Regions from separate parts of the Homo sapiens genome. Here all the other regions are linked to region 1. Evidence: promoter capture Hi-C in 16 types of primary human blood cells and fetal thymus (Javierre and others, 2016). All regions are on one chromosome and are shown on one strand. Each heading gives the region's core, a stretch centred on a gene start or on the middle of the fragment in contact. The rest is flanking DNA. Distances are from core to core; before and after follow the strand shown.

Evidence for each region. Contacts are between HindIII fragments. The CHiCAGO score rates a contact against its expected background, and 5 or more counts as called.
Region 2: a fragment that was not itself captured here is called in contact with the fragment with the promoter of DLK1 in region 1 in 1 of 17 cell types (M0 macrophages); the score reaches 5.4 in M0 macrophages.
Region 3: a fragment that was not itself captured here is called in contact with the fragment with the promoter of DLK1 in region 1 in 1 of 17 cell types (megakaryocytes); the score reaches 6.8 in megakaryocytes.

What each region holds. Positions count from the first base shown.
Region 1 is chr14:100,724,976-100,729,510 of GRCh38, reverse strand. It overlaps DLK1 (delta like non-canonical Notch ligand 1), which reads right to left and starts at 2,619. Exons shown (of 5, transcript NM_003836.7): 1 at 2,376-2,619; 2 at 1,052-1,115; 3 at 445-575. The coding sequence starts at 2,442. The HindIII fragment of the contact is 10,517 bases long and covers 1-4,535 here.
Region 2 is chr14:101,215,801-101,220,335 of GRCh38, reverse strand. It overlaps the pseudogene LOC100128373. Among named protein-coding and RNA genes, the nearest start is that of LINC02285, 97 kb to the right of the region's middle. The HindIII fragment of the contact is 3,208 bases long and covers 748-3,955 here.
Region 3 is chr14:100,383,304-100,387,838 of GRCh38, reverse strand. The region is part of intron 2 of WDR25 (WD repeat domain 25); the gene reads right to left. Among named protein-coding and RNA genes, the nearest start is that of WDR25, 9.1 kb to the right of the region's middle. RefSeq lists an enhancer at 4,339-4,535. The HindIII fragment of the contact is 197 bases long and covers 2,478-2,674 here.

The DNA.
Region 1 (4,535 bases), core at 1,370-3,869:
CCACCCCGTTTGTTTGTTTGCAGCCTCTTTACAGTCTTGCGTGTGCTTTTCTAGGGAGTCTTAGCTCTGAGATCCCCAGAGCCCTGTCCATCACTGGGCTTCCATGACCTGGACAGGCAGCCTGGGGTCTGTGGTCCCACCGGCCCAGCTGTATGTGTATTTTGTGACTCTTTATTCAACAGGCAGCTCCCTGGCCCCCACGCCATGTTCCCTCTAGGTGCTGGGTGCTGATGGCGCAGAGAAGAGCAAAATAAAGTCCCTACCTCTGAGGAGGCATTCGGTACCCACAGGAAATTTATAAACAGATCTTTAGAATACAGGGCACGGAGTGTGCAGGAATGAGGAAGTGAGGAACACCAGCAACAGGAGACTGGGAGGAGGTGGTAGGGGCTAGGGCAGGCAGGTAAGGACGCAGAGCTGAGGTGAACAAAGGCGAGTGCCAACCTCTATCACAGAGCTCCCCGTCCCAGCCGTCGGTGCAAATGCACTGCCCGGGTTCTCCACAGAGTCCGTGAAGGCAGCCGGGAGAGGTCACGCACTGGTCACAAAGGGGACCCTGCCAGCCAGGCTGGCACCTGCAATGGGTGGGGGAGAAAGGTGGGGACATATGAAGAGGGCAGGGGTAGAGAGGCAGCTCAGGCTACTTTCTGTGGAACCAAGGACCCTTGGGGGTCTTTGCACAGTGGCAGCCGGTGGTCCTGGGAAGTAAACACCAGCCACCTGAATGGGAAAACTTAAAGAGAAAACATGCCAAGCTGAGGGGGCCGACTTGGAGGGGCCCCGAGATCCCGGGGGAGTGCTGCGTTTTGCCGCAGTGGCCTGCAGTGGTCCCACCTGCCCCCCCACCTCTGAGAACGCAGACAGGAGCTGTGGCTGCCCCCCCCCCGCCCCCCCCATCTCCCCAGCTCGCCCCACCAGTTTTCTGCAGGGGCCCGGAAGCTGTTTGCTGCAGCGTAGTGGCCAAGCCCCCTATTTTTTTCTGCCTGACTTCACGACTCCCCAGGCTTCTGCGTGGCCCCTACAAGCTGCCTCTGAGGAGCCACTCTATTACCTGCAAACATTGTCATCCTCGCAGAATCCATTTTGGGGGTTGCAGGCCGGGAAGCATTCAGCCCCTGAGGTACAAGAAAGGTTATACAATTCACCCCACCAGGCCCCAGGCCAAGGCAAAGGCTGTCTTCGCCCACACAGCCCACCACTGCCCTCGAGGGCACCAACAGCCCTCTTGGGTCCTACCAGCCTGGCACACAGTAGGCACTTCCTATCCGAGCATGGATGGGGCTCAGTGCACTCAGGAAAAACATCTCTGCCACGTTCCCAGCAATGAAATGACCACAGTACACTCTCCCTCGTTCTTAGGAGCAGGAGAAACACCTTCTCCTCGGACTCCCAAAAGCAAATACGACACCTCAAGTCCTCCTAACAGCGGGGACGGGGACCGTGGAGGGAAATATGTTGAGCCCTGGGCATGCAGCCTGACCGTCACTTTTGCAACCTGAGCTGAAAAGAGGAGCAGATTTTGAGGTGTTCAACTCCGGGAAAGCCCAGACAGGTTCACCTGGTGGGCGCCCCAGTAAGGCGTCTGCATTCTTTTTAAGGTTCATCCCTATTAAGCCGGGCACCCAGGTCAAATCTTCCCTCTTTCCCCTACCCCAGACTCTTCGCATTAAAAAAACGATGACGACACAGGGTTTTGCTTAGCGGGCTGAGGTTGCAACAACACTGCTTAGAGATTCTGACACTTTAACAGGCACCTACTGTGTGCATTTACTCAACCAGCTCCCCAGCTTTCTAGACAGCCCCCTTACAACCACTGGTGCAATGAGTGGGGGGGCGCTGCAGGAAGGGGGCAACTCTCTCGCTGTCAGAGACAGATGGCCGCTGCAGACAGAAGTGTCGCAGCCCCTCACCTACAGAAACGCGCCACGCAGGAAGGGCTCAGGCTGGGCTTCTCTGGGAATTGGGGGCTAAGACGGCAAAGTCGTCCCCCACTCCCGCCCCGAGACCTGTTCCAGAACGCTCACACAGGGACACCCCAAAGTTGCACCCCAGAGTATTTTCATAGAAGACTCCACAACAGCACCCCATTTTTCCATACCTCCTTGCTCAGCGCACCGACACCCCTCTGGCGCCACTTCTGCAGGGCGGGAAGGGGCTGGGGGTCTCACACATCCCCTGCGCCCTGGGACCCCTGGGACGGGCCTTGGCATGCGAGCGTGGTGGGTAGGGCGAGACAGGCACAGCGCGGGGCTTAGGGCTAGGCGGGACGGGCGGAGTTGGGGCTCACGAGACGGGGCGTGCGGGGCACCGGGCGGCCGGCGGGGAGTCGCAGGCTTCCCCAGAGGGGGCGCGAGCCGGGCCGCCGGGGAACTCACCATAGGTGCTGTGGCCGAAAGCCAGCAGGAGCAAGAGGACGCGCAGGAGGGCTTCGGTCGCGGTCATCTCTGGGCGGCCGGGGTCGCGGTCCCGGGAGCGGTGCGGGCGCGGGTCCGGCTCCTGGCGCCGCACTGGGCTTCTGGTTGCGGACGCGAAAGGGGGCGCGGGCGCGCAGCGAGGGGAAAGCCAGGGCTGCACCGGGCTGCGCGCTGCGCTCTCCACCGCCGCTGCCGGGGAGCTGCCGCCGCCGCCGCGCGCGCCGCCCTTTTCGTACCGCCTCCCCCCTCGCGGCCCCCGCCCCCCGCCCCCGCCTCCGTGCGCACGGGGCCGGCGCCGGCCAGTCCCTGTGACCCCCTCCCCTCGCAGGGCCGCCCCCGACCACGGCGGCGTCCCAGAAGCCCGCTCGCGCACACGGGTGCACTCTTGGCTAGACGGGCACAGGTATCCCGCGAGCGTTTGGTACACGTTCCCTCACACTGTACAGCACGCGGCCGCCGCGCACATACAGGCCTGCCTAGGACAAGTCGCAGGAATCGAACCTGGGCCGCAGACCTCCCCGGAGAGCACAAATCCGCACGCAGGAACACCGAAACACTTATCGCTGAAGTCCCGGGCACACGTGCAATGGTTAGATACCCAGGAAAACACAAAGGCGCACTATGAAGATGTGAACTAAGCACATAATTACACACGCACACAGAAAAACCCCCAGGAAAAGCCCGACGCCCCCTGTACCCCTGGCCATGAAGACGCAGAAAAATGCAGTTGCCCCGTGGCAACCCACACCCCGCAACGGAAACGCACACGGCAACTCAAACACACTGTAGCCCAGACGCCGTATAGACACAGTCCTAGGTGGCAGAGGGTCAAGCGGACCTGCGGTTACCCAACCATGGGCATCCTCCCCCATGTGCCGACCCCCTGCACACAGACGCTTACGCAGAGCCACCTGCACACCCAAACACGCAAACACACGTATAAACAGACGGACACCCGTGCCCGCATTCAGTCACACCCACCCCCGCACACACAGCATCTCAGTCAGGGCCTTAGCCGCGCTGAAACACAAATGCACCGACTCTTACGCACACATGTACGCACAGCCATGCACCTGATACCCACAAGCACACATACCCAGCTGACTCGTGGTCACACACACTGACAAAAACATATACGCAGTCCCCACACACACACGATCGCATCTGTCTTTGTCCACAGTGGCATGCATGGGCAGCCTCACCAATGTGCTCTCACATACACACAATAGCACTCCAGGCACTCGGCACGTATTCCAGACTCACTGGGAGACCTTCTCTGAGGGGTCGCCCGCTGGAGAGGTGGAGGTAGAGGATGCTGATTGCCAGAGACCCTCTTCCTCTGCAGAGCTCCCAGGGAGAGGGAGTGCTCCTCAGACACCCCTCCTCCCCATTGCCCCCGGCTTAGGCTTAGAGCCCTGCTGGAGAGGAAAGCTCTGCACCCCTGCACCCAGTCTGGATGGGGGAGGCTCAGAAAGATAGGGAGGGAGAGGGGTAGGAGGGGATTAAAGATATTTCACCTCCTGGGGGAAGGGTCCCAGGCGTCCCAATCTTTGGGTGGGTCGTTTAGGATACTTAATTTGCATATATTAATTTGCATACATATCCTAGATGCAGGGAGTGGGTGCCCACCCAGCTCGCGGCCTCCCCTTCTTCACAGTGCTGCAGGGGGGTGTGATCTCACCACTGTGAACCTGGAGGCTGGATGCTTTGACCTCCTGGCCCTCTAGTCCAGCCCTGGCAGGTCTGAGCACAGATTTCCCATCTTAGCCATAGATGTGGGAAGGCAGGCCCATGGGCATCCCCAGGCCCACCACCCCTAAGTCAGTGCTCCAGTAAGGCACTCGGGATGGGTACAGGGATGGACAGAGACCAGAGCTGCTCTGGGCTGGCTCCAAGGAGGCTGGAGGGAAACTCCCAGCCCCTGGTGGAAGATATCCCTTCCCTGATGTTATCTGCAGAATGCCCAGATAGGTAGGGGCTGCTGGGAACGGCTTTGGGGACAGGCTGTAGGGAGCAGTTGGGGTGCCCACTGTGTGCCTGCCACATGCCCTTGCATTCCTGTGACCCTACTTTCTTCCGTGGACTCTTTCCTCAAGTCAAGAAACCAACTTCAGTGATGGA
Region 2 (4,535 bases), core at 1,102-3,601, 490 kb before region 1:
GTGAGCCCTGCGATTGCGCCAGCTTGCTGTCTGGAGACAGTTTCCAGGCCATGGTGCAGGGAGGAGGACTGAGACAGAGCCAGGGTCTTTCTGAATTGAGATGGAACTGGGAGTCTGATGAGGCCGAGGCAGCTGGAGTCCACAGGACAGAAGAACGAGAGGCACAGAAAGGGAGTTTCTGAGATGTGCAGAGGGATCTCCCCCGACCCCTAGCATTCAGTAGAGGGCTGATCAGCACATGGGTGGGCAAACTGCATGGGAGGAAAGACCCACCCAGAAGCATTCGCAGCAACAGTGCCCATGCTCACGAAGGGCTGGGAGTAGTGCCTGTTCCCACCAGCCAGACTGGACAATCTCACAGCTTCTGGGCACCCAGGAGAGTACTCAGTAGGGTGTCAGCCCAGTAGTGGGGTGAAATTCACCCTAGACTAAATGATGCTCTGGTCCCACCTAACAGAACTTAAAACCAAGCCTCAAGAGGATCAAACTGTTTCTAAGTAACTTAACTGTGTCTGAAAACAGTATTTATAGGAATATAAACGTCAAGCACCTAACAAGGTAACATTTATGATGTCTGGGATTTAAGAAAAGATTACCCAGGCATGCAAAGAAACAGGAAAATATGCCCTATAATCAGGAGAAAACCCAATCAAGCAAAACTGATTCAGAAATACTAGAGATGATGGAATTAGTCAACCGGATGAGAAAACAATTATTATAATTCTAATTCTCCACGTTCAAGAAGCTTCAGGAAAGATTGAGCATGTTAAGTAGAGACATGTAATGAAAAGAGATGTAAGTCAAACTTCAAGAGCTGAAAATACAATTATCTTAGATGAAAAATATACTGGATGGGATTAACAGAAGATTAAATACCACAGAAGAAAAAAAGATTAGTTAACTTGAAGACATAATAATATAAACTATCCAAAATAAAACATATGGAAAAAACAAAAATTGAAAAAAAAATAAACAGAGAAGAAGGAAGCTATGGATAACTTCCAAAGACCCAAGGAATATGTAAACTAGAGCTTCTGGAACAGAGGAGGAGGAGAAAGAAAAAATATACATTGGAAAAAAATAAAGCAGAAAATTTTACAAATTTGATGAAAACTATACATACCAAGATCCAAGAAGTTTAATGAATCCCAAGTCCATGAAACGCGAGGAAAAGCACACCCAAGCACATCAGGGAAAATTGTAGAAAATAAAAAGCACACATTACATACAGAGGGACAAACGGAACGAGGAGAGCAGACGTCTCGTCAATAGCAATGCATGTGGGAAGACAATGGGTAAAGTCTTTATTGAAAAAAACAAATGATCAGCTTTCCATTCTATACCTAGCAAAGATATATTTCCAAAATGAAGGCAAGGCTGGGCACAGTGGCTCACACCTGTAATCCCAGCAGTTTGGGAGGCCGAGGTGAGTGGATCACTTGAGGTCTGGAGTTTGAGACCAGCCTGGCCAACATGATGAAACCCCGTCTCTACTAAAAATGCAAAAAATTAGCCGGGTGTGGTGGCAGGTGGCTTTAATCCAGGCTACTCGGGAGGCTGAAGCAGGAGAATTGCTTGAACCTGGGAGGTGGAGGTTGCACTGAGCTGAGATCGTGCCACTACACTCCATCCTGGGTGACACAGCGAGACTCTGTCAAAAAAAAAAAAAAAAAAAAAAAAAAAGGTAAAATAGACTTATTTAGCATGCAGAAGCTGAAAAGAATTTGTGAATTTGTGATCAGCAGGCCTGCACTACAAGAACTATTAAAGGAAGTCCTTCCAGCAGAAGGAAATGAATTACAAATAGATGCAGGGATATATGCAGCAGAAATAAGAGCACTGGGAATGGTGATTATGTGGATATATATTTTCCCATTATTCAAAATAGCTTTTTAAAATATAATTATGAGCCACTTGGTGCTGAAGTCACCTTAGGGACCCAGGGACATGGATCGGGGTGCTGACAGCCTTCAGCAGCTGAGGGCCCTGCATTGAAGGTCCTGGATGAAACGCACGGCCAGACCAACCGGGAAGGTGAATGCCAAGAATGGAAGTGTTTAATGATGCAGGTCATTGCGTTTCTTTGTCTGGAGTATGTTCAGAACCGTTTCTGAGCATGTCCACAAGCCAGTATGCAGATGATGATCTGATGGTGAAGAGACGACCTCAACGGGGTTCATGAAAACTAGTTCCCATGTACTGCTTGAAACAGCTGTCATCCGCAAAGCACTTTACCCAGCATGGACGCTCCACCTCTTGCCACAGCAGCACAGACAGCTAATGGCATACCTGCTTCTAGAAGACCCTTCTACCTGGAGGATCTTCCTGTGGCATCTACCTCCCTCATGAAGCAGAAGTCATCTGGCACCTGTGTGCAGTCATCTTATCGCTCTGCATTTGTGTAGGTTGGAACAGTTTCATTCAGCGTGGACTTTATCAAGACTGTGCATTTAGGCCTACAGTTCATATCCCTGATAACTATCTGGGTGGTGCCTGTCCACACTTGGTATTTGACGTTCCTCCCTTTCACACCCTCATTAATTCCATCTCTGTGAACTGGATGTGCAGAGAGATTTGCAAAGTAGAGGCGGAACCATAATTGCACTTGGGAAGTACCCATCAGTACAAAGAAACATTTCTTCAAGATTGATACAGCAAACCCCCTAAACCCAGAGGCTACAGTAGTGTGTGTGTACAGTAGTGCGTGTGTGTGTGTGTGTCCTTTTAAAAATAACGTGGTTGATGGTTTTAAGATGTGTCCCGCTTGTTTATTTGAGCAACCTAAAATAGCAGACCCACATTCCATTAGCTTTTCTCCATGGTATCCATCTGCACATCATGAAACCAGAGGGAAGAAGCTGGATGAGCTGCACAATAATTGTGTTCCTGCGATGTGTAAAGCCTGACTCAATGCCATCTTTCAGCAAGGAAGAAAAAACAGCAGCAACCTAGGAGATGCCGAATCTGTGGACCTTGGCCTGGTGAGAGCTGATCAATGGCAAGCACTGCCTATGAACATAGCAAGGTAAACACAGGCCACTGCTCCGCAGTAGAAAGGAAGCAACTATTGAGACACTCCACAGCTGGAAGAGAGCTCACGAGCATTGTGCTGGGTGAGAGCCACTAGTCTCCCAGAAACAGGGCGGTGGCTAGGGAGCATGGAAGGAAATCTTCACCATAGCCATGCGGTGACAGAGACAAGGTGGTGTGTACAGTGGTGTCCTCACCATCCTCAGCTTGTTTGGGAGGTATTTATTGGTGAGTTTCCAGGACCCTCAGGACATTCTGTGTCCTTCTGAGAACAAGGTAACACGTAAAAGCATTTTGTAAACTCTCTGTGAAAAGAAGGGGTTATGACCTCCAATGCCAGGGAATCTTCTCCCTTGAGATTCCCACGACCCTCTGGCTTGACTGCAGTGGTGAGATGGGGGTGTTGCAAGAGTTCATGGTCAGAGTCCACAGTGCTGTTGCGTGGCCCCAGGCAAATGACCGTTGGGGAAATAAGACAATCCTCCTGTCAAAAGACCCTTCTGTACCAAAATAGAAGAGAGAGAATGCAGTTTAATCTTAAGTAAGCACTGTGATATTCACATGCATGTAAGATAGCACAAAAGTGTCTCCAGAGACTGGACTTCAGAATTTCAACAGACGTGCACAGAAATGCAGAAAAGAGAAGAACGAAGCATTCTCCTATCTCCTAGACAGATAAGAGGACCCACTTGTCTATCTGTGAAAGATTTCCGAGGTCCTCTTAGGGGGTTGTGTTTACAGTTCCAAGGGTCAGGAGGCCTCATATCTTACATAGTAAAACTAAAAGATTGGGCCTCTTATCGGACTGATTATTTTTTTCCAAGGAGATACCCTAAGGAGGAGAGGGTGGAGAGGAAGCGGCCTCCTTCCTGTTTATTAACAAAAAAGGTCCATCATCTTATCCTTACATTGACTTAACTAAGCTTCCATTTCCTCAGCTGCAAAATCATGTTGTGCTCCGTGTGCAGCATCGTGCCTACTGAGGGGTTAACCACAGTCTGCAGAGAGCGGGTCCTCTGCCATTCCGCCTCTCTCCCATATGCTTGTCCCCCACATAGATGCCTGGGGGTAGAGGCTGCATAGCCCAGAATCATCCCGCGTCCCCGCCACTGCCTCTCACTAATCCCATGCTGCTGATGTCCTGGCCTGATCCACATCTGGTCTGCATCTCACATGCAGCCCCGGGACCCACTGCCCTTCAATTAGAAGGACTGCGTGTTAGGTAAATACGACATCTTCCAAATGTCTCAGGGTGAGCGCGGCCTCCCAGCCCATGCGATGGAGCCAGCTGTGATTGCTGCAGATCGAGATTTCACAGATTTAGCTTTTCTCTTGCAAAGCTAAGCTCCCAGAGAGATCATGGAACCTTCTACTAAGAGTTCTGCTGTTGTCAATTAAGAAATATTTTTCTTTCTTTTTTCTTTTTGAAGAAGGGATGTCATCATTTTCAAGTGTCAAGAAGCTGAAACAAACAGTTGTTGGGGATGTTTTTAGTGAAGTTTTGA
Region 3 (4,535 bases), core at 1,327-3,826, 340 kb after region 1:
GCTGGGATAGAGCTTGGACACCACCTGGGTGAAGGGGATGCGCTTTTCCATCCCTTATTCTCAGAGGCAGGAGGGCAGCGTGAGTGGTGGTAGCTCTTTCTGCTCAGGCTCTGAGTCTGAAGCTTCCCTGCTTGCCTCTATCATTTACTAGCTGTGTGACCACGGACAAGTCTCTTGACCTCTCTGTGCCTCAATTTCCTCATCTGTAAAATGGGAATGAGGACAGAAGTGGCCTCTCAGGCCTGTAATGAAGAGGAGACGGAGCGTTTAGAACATGCCTAGTACATGGTAAGCACTCAGCAATGGCTAGCGCTCTCCATCCTCTCATCCATGCTTTAAATGTGACCACTTTGGGGACAGGGAACCAGCTCTCCAACACAGACCTGCCAAGTGTTCAGTACATGAAAAGGGAGTGCATGAATGGCTTGGCACAGACAATCCTCAAACTCTTTAGATTCTAAAAGTATTTATCTCAAGAACACTGAGATTGAAACGCTTTAAAAACGTGTGCATAGAGACAATGAAAAGATTCACAAAAAACAAGAGTTACAGTAAGTTGGAGGATTCTGGGTGATTTGTCTTTTCTACACTTTGTTTTATAACTAATCAAGACAGGTACAGGGGAATCAGAAACATGCTTCCTCAGCCTCTCCCTTGTCAGGCACTAGGCTGGATCTTCTCATTTCAGCTCTACAGCAACAACCTTAATTGGTGGCCATTTACCAATTATCCCCATTTTACCAGTGAGGAACTAGGGGATCAGAGAGGCTAAGTGATTTTCCCAAAGTCACACAGCTACCAAGCAGAAGATTTGGCATGGGAGCCAAGGAGTACAACAGTGGTACTGAAGGTTTGCCAATCTAATCAGGTCCCACTCTCACCACACACAAGGGCTTTAGCTAATGCCTGGGTGTAAATCAAAGCCCATCTTTTTCTTTTTTTTTCTGAGATGGAGTCTCGCTCTTTCACCCAGGCTGGAGTGCAGTGGTGCGATCTGGGCTCACTGCAAGCTCCGCCTCCTGGGTTCATGCCATTCTCCTGCCTCAGCCTCCCGAGCAGCTGGGACTACAGCCGCCCACCACCGCGCCCGGCTAATTTTTTGTATTTTTAGTAGAGACGGGGTTTCACCATGTTAGCCAAGATGGTCTCAATCTCCTGACCTCGTGATCCGCCTGCCTCGGCCTCCCAAAGTGCTGGGATTACAGGCATGAGCCACCGCGCCTGGCCTCAAAGCCCATCTTAACTGCATTAAGGCAGCAAAAAAAGACAATATTTATGTATAGCCATATTCACTGTAATACTGATTATTTTTTAAACAAAAGCAGGAAATTATAGGAAACAACATGGAAATGATGGAGCAAAGTATGAAACTTGAGACAGTTATAAAAATATATTTGGGGAAAAGTTTTTAATAAGGTAGAAAAATTCCCCTTACACGTTACAGAAGATTGGGCAGCAGAGGAAGAATTCAAAACTGCACATACTATGCAATAAGCCCAATTATGTAAACAGATAGGAATGTAGGGCCCCCGACCAGGGAGGCCCCTCATGTTAATGAGGCACTGACTTGGGGTTGGGAGTTATCAATGATTTCTGTTTCTCCTTCATACTTCATATTTCCTGCATCATTAAAGTTTTTCACAATAAGCATCTATTACATTCATGGTCAAAAATTAAAAGGTTTTTTTTCAAAGTATTTTAAGGAAGCTTGTTACTGAAAGAATTTCTAGAGCAAATTATTCTGTAAAGCAAATAAACAACATCTAATTCATATATTTTCTTTAAAAACCTTCTGTGTTTCAGAACTGCAGGTTTTCATACAGGTACAGAAGGTCCCTGGTGGGTCTTCTGTCACCCACCCAAAGGTCTTATTCCTTTGGGACTCCCTCTCAGTGCCTGGCAGAGGGTTCTGTACATGGGAGCATTCAATAACGGCTGGTTGTGTTTTTGGTTAACGCAGGCCACGTACATGTTTTCCTTCAAAAAAAGGCATCAAAGTCTGAATTTCTACCTTTACGTGCAGTGGGTGTTCAAACACGTTAAGCCAAAAGAGTTCACTGGGAGATGAAAAGAGTATATAAAAGGGTATCCGTGCTGGGATCACAGCTATGAAAAAAACAAGCACGTTCACAGACAAGGGGAGGAAGGGATCGTCAGGAAAGAGCAGCGGTGCAGAATTATGAGTCATTGTTTTATTTTACTTAATTTCTCTAGCTGTAAATTTTTCAAAACTAATAAAAGCATATTTTACAGCTCACAGAACATTTAGAACATATTAAAATAAGTATCTTTCCACTGTAATGTGTCCAGTTGAAATGTATGAATTCCGAAGCTACGTTTTAAGGATATGAAGGAACTGGCACTCCATGTTCTTTAGATTAATAAGTTGGACTGTGTTGTTTTTCTCCTGATCAGAAAGAAATCATTTTTCAGTAAATGTTACCTTGAATCAAGGATTCTTCCACATTCTAGAAGCTTGGATGAGCTGCTTATATTAAGTCTTACTGTGCACCCTAGTGGCGAATATGATTTATCCACTCAAAAGACAATCCCTTCCCAAAGGCTTGCGATAAAATCCAAAAAATTTGTTTTAATTTTTATCGATCACTTAACATGTACACAATTTTGTGCCAGATGCTGGGGAATATAAAAATGGGTTCTGGCTCAGGAAGCTTAAAGTCTAGTAGGTGAAGCTGATATGCTTCCATGGCTACTTACGTAAAATAAGACATGAGCACAAGTCAAGGAAAGGAGGAAATTCTTGGGGAAAAGCAGGAACTCGAGCACACACTAAGTGCCTGCTATGTGCCAGGCATTGCACTTGGTGATTCACAACTAATATCGTTTACTTTTCACAAAAACCCAGCGAGGCATGTTTAATTCTCTCCACTTTATAGATACTCAAATGAAGGCTCAGAAGTGAGGTAACTTGCCAGAGACCACGCAACCAAGGGGCTGGCCGTAGAGGAAGGACCCAAGCAGGTCTTGTCACCCAGCCCCCAAGCTCTTCCCTCCTTCCTGATCCAGCAGGGGCCCAGAAGACACTGGCAGATTTTAACCAAAAGGCAGGGGGAAAGCACCCTGGGAAGGGTGTACTGCTGCACCCGCCTCTTTGAGCTCATTCCATGCTGCACCCACCATTTCCTCTCCTCCAGGGACTGGGCTGCAGCCAGCCAGGACTCCTGCCTGTGCCCGAGGCCCTATCCCCACTCCAGACCCACCACCCACACCCACACACTGCCTTCCCCAGATCACCAGGTCCCCAAGATCTGCCATGCTGCCCCACCTCTGACACCAAGGAGGGAAAAGAACACCATGTGCCTCCCAGCCAGGCCACGCACAAACCTGGTGGCCCAGCAAGCCTGAGGCCTCAGCCGGGACTTCTGGCCACAGCTCCTGCCTGGCTCCCCGCCGGTTCCCAATCTGTCTTCCCATCCTGGCTCCTCCAGCCCCTGCCATACACTCTTCACACTGAAAAGTTGTTCAAAGTCAATTTGCCCAAAACCAATTTGCCAAATAACCCCATCACTGAAAACTGACAAATATCTTAAAACAGAGAGGGCCCTGGCCCACCATTTGTATCTATGGCTTATAAAAGCCCTAATGTTCACGACACCACAGTAAAAAAAGAGGGTCAGGAGATGCCAACCCTAGCAGCCATGCTGACCCTGGCCCAACCTCATGACAGCAAATGTGCTCTGCCCTGGGAAGGAACCCAGGGTGCACAGTGCAGTGGGTGGGGCTCCCCAGAAGCTGCCTGGCAGCCCAAGGGGCCCATGCCAGTGTCATCACCTGCAGCACACACAGTCTCCTCGGGACAGGCGGGCACAGCTGCGGCGCCTGGCCCCACCCAGGGCAGCCCCACAGACCCGGACCCAGGTCTCTGAATCGCCCAGGAGCAGGGCATTCCTACCACAGTCCCTCAGTCTGAGCCACCCTCACTGCCATTCCAAGCTGGGCCCACTGCGCCCTCTTCTGGTCATGAGGTGTCACAGTTAGTTGGCTGCTCACAGTTTCCCCTCCATGGGGGCAGAAACGTCTCTCCCCCCACGTCCCCAGTGGCACCGTGCCTGGCACATTTGTCTACTCCACAAGGCCAGAAATCAATGCCTCTACTCAGGTGCTCTCTGCTCAAAAACTACCATGGGGATGCTTCTGTTTAGGAAATCTAAATTTCCCAGGCAAAAGTGACCCAAGCTGCCACTCTGCCAGCAGGGCCCAGGGAGCACTTCACGCCACCAGGCGAAGGCCAGTCCCACAGGGCCCCAGGTCTGCCCCTCACCATCAGGAGAGAGAACTCCAGAGGTGAGCGGGCAGGTAAAAGAAGGCCTCAACAGGAAGGTGAGCACAGGGAGGACAAGGGCCACCACTTGAACTCCAGGGCCAGTCAGACACTGCCCAGGCCCACCAGCAACCCTCCAGATGGGCTTCCCATCCTCCAGCCCTTGCAGCGCAGACTTGGGAAGGAGAGCAGAGAAGCCCCGGGGCCACAGGATCAATCCCAGCATGCTGTGATCCACGCCAGGGATGCCAGA